2 separate regions of the Homo sapiens genome follow, and region 1 is linked to region 2. The links are contacts of gene promoters, found by promoter capture Hi-C in blood cells and fetal thymus (Javierre and others, 2016). All regions are on one chromosome and are shown on one strand. Each heading gives the region's core, a stretch centred on a gene start or on the middle of the fragment in contact. The rest is flanking DNA. Distances are from core to core; before and after follow the strand shown.

Region 1 (5,030 bases), core at 359-2,858, 380 kb before region 2:
TGACCTAATGGATGCATATGGCATGCTATATCCAACAACTGCAGAATGTACATTCTTTTCAGGTATATGTGGAACTTTTAGTGAAACAGACCCTATGCCGAGCCATAAAACAAGCCTCAACAAATTTCAAAGGAATGAAATACAAAATACGTTTTCTGACCACAGTGGAATTAAACTAGAAGTCAATAGTTGAAAGATACCAAGAAAATCCCCAGAATAAGGAACTACTTACAGTAGCCTACAACCCATGATGAATTTTTTTTTTTTTTTGACAGAGTCTCACTCTACTGCCCAAGCTGGAGTGCAGTGGCATGATCTTGGCTCACTGCAGCCTCTGCCTCCCAGGTCCAAGTGATTTTCCTGCCTCAGCCTCCTTAGTTGCTGGGATTACAGGCGCCCTCCACCATGCCCGGCTAATTTTTGTATTTTTACAAATACAAAAATTGTAACCTGTTGGCCAGGTTGGTCTCGAACTCCTGACCTCAAGTGATCCACCTGCCTTGGCCTCCCACAGTGCTGGGATTACAGGCGTGAGCCACCACATCCTGCCTGAAAATCTAAAGTTTTAAATTTAACACACATATTTATTATACACCAGGAACTGTTCTAAACACTTTACGTATATTAACTTAGTCTCTTTAACAATCCTATGAGATAGAGACTATTATTCCCATTTTATGGGTGAGGAAACTGAGGCATGTGGAGGTTAAGAAACTTGCTCAAGAGCCTGGGAAACATAGCAGGACCCTGTCTCTACAAAAAAAAAAAAATTAAGGTTGTGAGAGCCTCTGGTCCTAGCTACATGGGTGGCTGGGGCAGGAGGATCGCTTGAGCCCAGGAGTTCGAGGTTGCAGTGAACTATGATTGTGCCATTGCACTCCAGCCTGGGCAACAGAGCAAGATCCTGTCTCTAAATAAGAAAAGAAACTTGCTCAAAATCCCACAGCTAGTAAATGACAGTCAAAGCTAGGCAATATAGCAATATGCAGATAGTGCTCAGCAATCTTTAAAAGTGTGTCTGTTTTCCTCCTTAAAAGAGTGGACTTGGCTCCCTGGCCCCTGACAACTAAGGTAGTTGGTTGCCAGGTAAGCAGAGGTCCAGCTGGAACATATAGATTCTTTAAAAAAATAAATAAATAAAAATAGAGACAGGATTCTAGCTCTGTTGCCCAGGCTGGTGTCAAGCCCCTGGCCTCAAGCAATCCTCCTGTCGTAGCCTCCGAAACTGTTGGGATTTCAGGCGTGAGCCACCGCGCCCGGCCAAGAGCACGTTTGGTTGGTTTGTCCTGAGGGGCAGGTCTCTCGCACCAAGCAGGAGGTAGAGGTCTCGGGCCCAGAGGGGCCCTGCATCCCCCACCTCCTGCTGCGAGAGGCATCAGCCGGCCTTGTCCCTAAAGCCCCTGCTCGCTTTCCTGTCACCACTCGGGTGCGGTTCCGAAGTGGCCAGCAGGGGCCGCGGTTCCCCTCCTTTCGGCGCCACTTCTGCAAGCAGGGCTGGGACAGCTGCAGGACCTCGTCAGTTTGGGGAGCTGCCAGACCCGATCAGCAGCGTTGTCGGCTTCCTTCCTCTTTATCAGATCTGTCAGGGCTGCTGCGCGCTGCGAAGGCGCCTCCGGCCTCCTTCCCTCCTTCCTGTGTCGAACGGACGCTCCCCGGCGCCGCTGCGAACCGACACCTCCGCGCCTCCCCCGGCGGGGCAGGGCAGGGACCCGCTCACACCCTAGGTGGGGTGGGGTGGGAAGTGCCAGCGGTCTGGGTGTGACGGAGCCAGCCAATGTCCACGCGAGGTCAGGTCGCACGTGGGCCTCGACGCTGGCACTTCTGCATGTCCCTGGTTCTCGGCCGGCCACCGGCAGCTAGAGGAAGCGCTTCGCCCGCGAACCACAGGGCTGGGCGGCGGTTGGGTCGCGGCAGGGCGAGGGCTCCGCTGCGGTTGGCCCCGAGCGGCGTCCTTCCCCCGGGGGCCCCCGATCACTGCCTGGGGACTCGAGAGCGTCCCCGCCGCCGCGCCAGGCGCCAGTTCCCTGCTTCTGAGAGCGCGCACGGGAGCCCGAGCGAGCCCTCCTGGACGCCCGGCACAGGCCGGAGCGCCGACCGCGGGAGGGGCCACCTGGGCACTAGGAAAAGGGGCCACGGTTCCAGGCGGGGCGGTCCCCGCTCTGCTGACTCGGACGGGCCTCACTTCCCCGCCAGAAGAAGCGGCACCCATCCACGGGGAGGGACGGCCTCGGGACATCCTTTGGGGAAGCCAGTGACACATTTCTGATCCAATTTCTTATAAGAAATAGATAAACCTCAGTTTCTTCCTGTGCTTCCTTTCTCTAATTTCCTCAGTCAGATAATAATTGTCATTAAACTCGATGTACCAGTTATTGTGCTAAAGTTTTTAAAATGTTTCAAGTCTCTTCATATTCTCAAGTCTATTAGAGGAGGGACTATTCTTGTCCCCATTGTTTTATATAAAGAAACTTAAACCTAGAGAGGTTAAATAATTTGCCCAAGATCACACCAGGAACTGATAGAGGTCATCTGGCTCCAGAGCTTAACATCGCACTGGGTTGGTTGCTGTCACCTCCCCTGTGCAGGGTTTAAGGAGACTCGAGGAGGCTGATTTTTTTTCCTCTTCTCCTCTTCTCTCTTCTCTTCTCCCCTCTTCCCCCCTCTTTTCCCCTCCCCCCTCCCTCCCTCCTTCCCTCCTTTCTCTCTCTCTTTCTCTTTTATTTTTTATTTTCTTTTCATAGGCTTTCACTCCCATTGCCCAGACTGGACTGCAGTGGTGCAATCTTGGCTCACTGTGACCTTCAGGGAAGCTGATTTCTTAGCCCAGCTGTGGAACTGTCCAGAGCTCCCCAGCTACCCAAGTGTATTCCTCCTCTCCGCCTCCTCCTCTTCTCCTCCTCCTCCTCCTCCTCCTCCTCCTCCTTCTCTCTCTCTCTCTTTAATTTTTTAAGAAACAGTGTCAAGCAATCCTCCTGCCTCAGCCTCCTGAGTAGCTGGCACTACAGGCACGTGCCACCCCAAGTGGCCTTTTCCAGCAGGAAGTTTAGGAGCCTAATGAGCGCAATGCAAGCAGAACCAAATGGTTCCAATACCACGCACCAAGTGCATTGGCACCACATTTCTGGGTAAAAGGGTCCTGCTTGGCAGGGGGGACTTTGAGGGGTCAGGGAGGGCAAAAGGGGCCTCTCCCCTTCCTTGGCTCAGAGATGTTCACGCAACTCCCTGCCGTCTGCAGAGGTCACTGTAAGCCAGCAGACTCATTCTCACGTGGCTGAATGGAGGTTTTCCAATCAAGGAAGGGGCAAGAGAAGAAAAGCCCAGGGCCCTCTCCATTCCCTTCCTTCGTAGACATGCTTTTAAAAAATGATTTAAAGGCTGGACACGGAGGCTCATGACTGTAGTCTCAGCTGCTTGGGAGGCTGAAGTGGGAGGATCGCTTGAGCTCAAGAGGTCAAGGCTGGAGTGAACTAGGTTCACTGTGCTTCAGCCTGGACCACAGAGTGAGACTCTGTCTCCAAAAAAAAAAAGAAAGAAAGAAAAAAGATTTAATCTCATCTCTTAAATAATTTACTGCGGAATTGCTGCTAATCTTTACAGATCCTCCAAGAATTCTATGGTTTATGCCAGCATCATGAGTTTGCCCCTTACTATTTATTGATTTTTGGTCAGAAAATGTAAATAAATTTAAAAAATGTACATAAAGTGAAGCCCAAATCACTGGTGCACAGTATTGATTTGATTATCAATAGAGATTTTTTGTTGTTCAATCTGCAGTGTTCTAAAGTTACCTTTCAACTTGAAATTCTAAGCCAGCTTGCATTATCAGATTTTTTAGAAACCTTGATGACATCAAGCTGGAAATATTCCAGGACCCTCGTCTCATTGAAGAAAGAGCTAAGGATGAGTGACTCACCCAAGGCTCTGTTGGTTGCAGAATGGGGGCTCCTTGGACCAGACAGTGTGTTTAGCAAAAACATATGATGGCAACCAGGCTGGGACAGAGTTGCTACTAGAATGACATCTTTATCCCCTCGTCGGCTTTCAGGGAGTTCTCTGACTTCCTAAGGAATGGGCTTAACAAATAATCCTTGGCAACCAGAATGTTGATCTCATGTTTAAAAATATATTTATCTAATGTTAAAACACACGCACTTAACTATATGGCATGCTCTATTCATTAAAAAATAATACTGTTGAATGCCTCCCGGGTGCAAGGCCCTGGCTGGATGTGAATTAATGAAGACACGTGATTTCTGCCTTTAAGAGGCTTCCAGGATCACAAGGGAGAAAAGACATGAACACAAATAACTGGGCCATAAAAGCAGAAGGTGAGAAACGATTCTCAAGAGACTAAAAGTACTATTTATTCATCCATTCACAAAAACGTATTGAACCTACTTTATGAAGATTCATAAAGGGAACTTTTCACTAGGAAAATCAAAAGGGTATCAGGGAGGAATTTTTTTTTTTTTTTTGTACAGGTTTTGAATTGTTTAAGTGATTATCAAAGCAATTCTGCTCATCGTACAAGTTTTGGAAAGTACAGAAAACGGTAAAGAAACACATACGCAAATTTCCCCCAAATTTACCACCCAGAGACGACTATTTATAGTGTGTTTTCCAGCCCATTTGGCGAGGATTTTTTTTTCCTTTATGAATTTTAGAGCTTAATTTCTATTACAAATCTGTTATACCATAAGCATTTTCCCATATCATCTGGAACTCTTGATTTTTTTTTTTTTTTTTTTTTTTGAGACAGGGTCTTGCTCTATTGCCCAGGCTGGAGTGCAGTAGTGAAATCTTGGCTCACTGCAGCCTCAACCTCCTGGGCTCCGTCAGTCCTCCCCCCTTCACCCTCCCGAGTAGCTGGGACTGCAAGCATGCACCACCATGCCCAGATAATTTTTGTATTTTTTTGTAGAAACAAGGTTTCTCTATGTTGCCCAGGCTGGCCTCAAACCCCTGAGCTCAAACGATATGCCCACCTTGGCCTCCCAAAATACTGGGATTACAGGTGTAAGCCACCGTAC
Region 2 (4,799 bases), core at 1,865-4,364:
GAGTTGTGTGGTCCCTTTTTATTGGATCAGAACAAGGTTTTGCAGTATTGGAGACCATACTATAGTGGCACTTAAGTAGACTTTATTTGGCATTACTATTAAATTGGCCAGGTGCAGTGGATCACGCTTGTAATCCTAGCACTTTGGGAGGCTGAGGCAGGTGGATCACCTGAGGTCAGAAGTTCAAGACCAGGCTGGCCAACATGGTGAAACCCCGTCTCTACTAAAAATACAAAAATTAGCGAGGCATGGTGGTGCACACCTGTAATCCTAGCTACTCGGGAGGCTGAGGCAGGAGATTCACTTGAACCCAGGAGGCAGAGGTTGCAGTCAGCTGAGATTGCACTACTGCACTACAGCCTGGGTGACAGAGCGAGACTCCATCTCAAAAAAAAAAAAAAAAATTACGTCACATGATGTGAAAGACACTCTTTCTTTTTTTTTTTTGAGACAGAGTCTCACTCTGTCACCCAAGCTGGAGTACAGTGGAGCCATCTCAGCTCATTTCAACTTTCGCCTCTGGGGTTCAAACAATTCTCATGCCTCAGCCTCCCGAGTAGCTGGGGTTACAAGCGTGTGCCACAATGCCTGGCTTATTTTTTTGTATTTTTGGTAGAAACGTGGTTTTGCAGTTTGGCCAGGCTGGTCTCAAACTCCTGGCCTCAAGTGATCTGCCCGCCTGGACCTCCCAAAGTGCTGGGATTACAGGCATGTGCCACCACACCAGGCCTCAATTATCTTTTAATCCTAATTCAAGAAAAAAGCCTCAATTTGGGTTAGAGGATTTAAAACCTATCTTAATGCCTCTAATGCTTTCCAAGTTCCCCTCCTTTTAAATATTTTCACAGTTTGCATTGACAAATGAAAAATGAAAGGAATTTTCCATTTGAAGTATCATTGAAGAGTCTTTTTTTTTTTTTGGAGCTGGGGTAGCAGGGAGAAGAGTCTATTTTTAAATAAACTTAATTGCATAAAGCAAAATGAGTGTATCGTCTTAAGGAAAACTTGAGTTAGACATTCCTTAGGTCATAAGCTGGTGGCAGTTTGTCCAGGAAGCCCCGCCTCCTAATTTCCAGACATGTGTTCCTTACACAATCACTCTAAATATTTAAGCATGTCTTTTTAATTGTTTATTAGATTAACTTTCCCTCGGCAAAGAGAGATACTCCTCCCAACTACCATCCCTAGTATATTCTTGGCCCTGGAAAAGCCCTGCAATTAAAGACGCCAAGAACATACCTACGGTCAACAAAGTTGAGTCTGTTGCACAGAAGAGAGCAAACCACGGGGAACCGTGGGCATTTGAGTGACAGGGTGTTAGGAAGGGCTTGTTCCAGGATTTGGGTTTGTATCAGGTGACTGAGGGGAGGGTTAAGGATGTGGATTGGGTACTGTCAGAAAGCAGGGGCTTTCTACAATTAGGTATCTTAGATTTTTTTTTTTTTTTTTTTTGAGATGGAGTCTCGCTCTGTCGCCCAGGCTGGAGTGCAGTGGTGTGATCTCGACTCACTGTAAGCTCCGACTCTCGGGCTCATGCCATTCTCCTGCCTCAGCCTCCCGTGTAGCCCGCCAGCACGCCCGGCTAATTTTTTCTATTTTTAGTAGAGACGGGGTTTCACCGTGTTAGCCAGGATGGTCTTGATCTCCTGACCTTGTGATCCGCCCTCCTCGGCCTCCCAAAGTGCTGGGATTACAGGCGTGAGCCACCGCACCCGGCCCAGTATCTTACATTTTTATATAGGAGGCAGAAGTAACGGAGTGAGACTAATGCTGTATTTGTTAATAACAGTCACTGGTGTTAGTCAGAAGAAAGAAATATGTGGTCATTCTTGTAATTTGAAAAGTCTTCTTTGTTTTGTCTCACTACAACAGTCAGAGTGATTTTGGGATTTTGTGAAACCATGGCCTAGCTGTCAGGTCACTCCATGGTGAAACAGGGGCTGCTTTTCTCTTTCTCTGCTCCAACTGCAGCAAGCTATTTGCTGGACTCTTATCCCTAATACAAATTCTCTTTCTTTGAATTTGTTCCCTTTGCTTGGATATCTCTTTCTCTAACTCCTTTAGTTGTCTGGCTTTCAAACAGTAGTTTAGGTGTCACCTACTACATGAGGCACCCCCTGGAGACCCACAAACTGCATTCCTCTCTCCTCCTCTGCACCTCCAGGGCACTTAAACATCAGATTCCCTATCAACTGGCTGAACTACCACACTGTAGACTTTCAAAAGTTTGCCATTTTTTTTATTTTCTTTTTATTCTTTTCCCCCAGAAGTCCCAAAAACAGATGATTATTTTCTTTTCACTCAAACAGATTCTGACAGAAGATTATTATTTTTTAAAGTGAACCAGGTCTCTTACTGACACTAGACAAGTTTCTTCCTGTCTCTAGCTCTACATATTTCCCTAGGTAAAATGAAGAATTTGTTGGAATCACGGAGCAGGGAGGTTGTTAGTAATGGAGACTCCCAAACCTAACCCAGATACATTAAATTGGATGTGGGTGGGAGAGGGGCTGGAGTGAACAGTTATATTTTCAAATGTTCTCAGAATGATCCCAATGTGCTGCCAGGGTTGAGTACCACCGAACAGAGCTTTCCTCTCAGATGATCCTGCTCTGTTGGTCTGTCAGACGCAGTGGTGTGGCTTCCTCGTCCCCTCTACAAAAGCGCACAGGCTTGGCCAGATGACGGATCTAAGCCGGCCTCCAAGACTACTCACCCGCATCAGGTGCAGCTCCCGGAATTTGCGCAGTCTCTGTTCGCGCTTCTGAGCGGCCAGCTCCGCCGCCGCAGCGAGGGACCCCTCCTCCGCGCTGTCCACCAGCACCTGCGACAAGGAGAACTGGCTTCAGGCAGAGCCGGCTCAGCTTCTCCCAGGACTGCCCAGGCCGAGTCCCCGCCGGTCCCCACAGGCTGGGCCTAGGGCCTCCACCGCCGACTTGACCCCACAGTGTCTGAGCCTCCCTGAAGCGAAACTAGACTTCGCCTCCACCTCTCTCCAGGCCGCTCCCCGGAACCCTCACCAACAAAACCCCCGGTGTACGGTGGGTGGAACTCACCTCGGATGCAGCTATAGCCGCCATCACAACCTTTCTCTCTTCCCACTTCCGGCAACAAGATAGAGCACTTCCGTCAACCTTCAGACAAACGGGCCGATACGTACGAATGGGCTACCATAAGCCCCGCCCCTTCCGGGAGGTCTCCGGAAGTTGGGACCCTTTTAGCTATGAAATATTTTGGATTGCGTAGGGTCTTGCGCAGCCGCGAAAAGTAGCGTGGGCCAGGACAGCGGGAGGTAAGTCGCCAAGAAAAGGGTTGGGAAGAGCTCAGAATCGGACGGCTAGGAAGAAATGACCAAAAGGAGCCTGATAGCCCCCTATTCTGCACGCTGTTCCTGGAAACCGCCTTTGCAAAGACAGTGAGAGAAATCTAACATGGCTCACTCCATCTTGCTTCTAGCCTCGCAGGCCGGCTGTCTTCGCTCATTCCTGGGCATAAACCAAGCTAACCATGGGAGAATTTATAGTTTAACTTTTAAGCAAGGATGATCATAGTCCCTTCCTTAAACAGGGCCCCTCCTTGTTTGGGGGCTGAAACTGCCTTTATAAAACTAATGAAAGACCGGGAGGTTAGGATTATGAGGGGAGAATTCTGCTAAAATGTAGTAAACGATAACCAGCCATTGTTTCGGAGGACATCGGATGTGTAACTTCCCCAATTATTCCTGTAGATAACGTTATCGTAGCACCTAAGATTGGTCTTTTGAGGCATTTTTCAGACTTTCGCATTCTGGCAACTAACTGACCCCACCCAGACTCGTGACCCATGACCCAACCGCTTCTTCTGTCCCACTCCTCCCCCAAGAGGCGGACTCAGCTGTTGAGGAGTGTAGTCCACACCCCTGTGATTGCATCTCCAACCAATCAGCAGCATCCATTCCCTAGTGCCCTGCCCACACCAAACTATGAAATACCCTAACCTCTGAGCTGACCCTTCAGGAAAACTTACTTGAGTGGTAACCCTTCTTCCCTGAGGCCAGCCTCAGGTTAATACAACTGTATACTGCAGTAGCACTTTTCAGTGAATTGGTTTTGTCTGCAGTAAGCAGGAAAAACCTGCAGTGCCATTCATTCCCATGAGTGGAAAGTTCTTTCCATTTAGAGCTTAAGGTGTTGTCACTTTCTCCAAGAAGCAGGTCTTGCCCTTGGCCTGGTGTGGTGGTTCATGGCTGCAATCCCAGCACATTGCGGGGCGGAGGCGGGAGGATTGCTTGAGCCCAGGAGTTCAAGACCAGCCTGGACAACAAAGTAAGAATCAGTCTCTAAATTAAAAAATAAAAGTAATTTTTTTTTGTTTTTTTGTTTTGAGACAGAGTCTTGCACTATCACCCAGGCTGGAGTGCAGTGGCACCGATCTCGGCTTACTGCAACGTCCGGCTCCCGGGTTCAGACGATTCTCCTGCCTCAGCTTCCCGAGTAGCTGGGATTACGGGTGCCTGCCACCATGCCCAGCTAATTTTTGTATTTTTAGTAGAGATAGGGTTTCACCATGTTGGCCAGGCTGGTCTCGAACTCCTGACCTCATGATCTGCCCACCTCAGCCTCCCAAAGTGCCGGGATTACAGGCATGAGCCACTGTGCCTGGCCATAAAAATAAATTTTTAAAAATAGAAGCAGGTCTTCCCTGACTACCCTGTCTCACTTTTAGTACTGTCATTTGACACTATTTTAATTCTCTCCAATTGCATAAGTTTTATTTTTGTCTGTTGATTTTCTATTTTTCTCATCAGCGTTATTACTGGA

What was found. The method cuts DNA at HindIII sites, captures the fragments that hold promoters and counts their contacts. A CHiCAGO score of 5 or more calls a contact.
Region 1: a contact is called between a fragment that was not itself captured here and the fragment with the promoter of SYF2 in region 2, in 1 of 17 cell types (monocytes). The highest score is 5.1, in monocytes.

The regions. Positions count from the first base shown.
Region 1 is chr1:24,846,647-24,851,676 of GRCh38, forward strand. No RefSeq gene overlaps it. Among named protein-coding and RNA genes, the nearest start is that of MIR6731, 70 kb to the right of the region's middle. RefSeq lists an enhancer at 803-1,527 and silencers at 1,642-1,841, 1,932-2,151. The HindIII fragment of the contact is 8,180 bases long and covers 1-5,030 here.
Region 2 is chr1:25,229,388-25,234,186 of GRCh38, forward strand. SYF2 (SYF2 pre-mRNA splicing factor) reads right to left here and starts at 3,115. Exons shown (of 7, transcript NM_015484.5): 1 at 3,057-3,115; 2 at 2,717-2,824. The coding sequence starts at 3,080. LOC124903881 (a long non-coding RNA gene) reads left to right here and starts at 3,202. Exons shown (of 2, transcript XR_007065555.1): 1 at 3,202-3,292. RefSeq lists enhancers at 2,933-3,082, 3,225-4,138, 3,323-3,572. The HindIII fragment of the contact is 32,676 bases long and covers 1-4,799 here.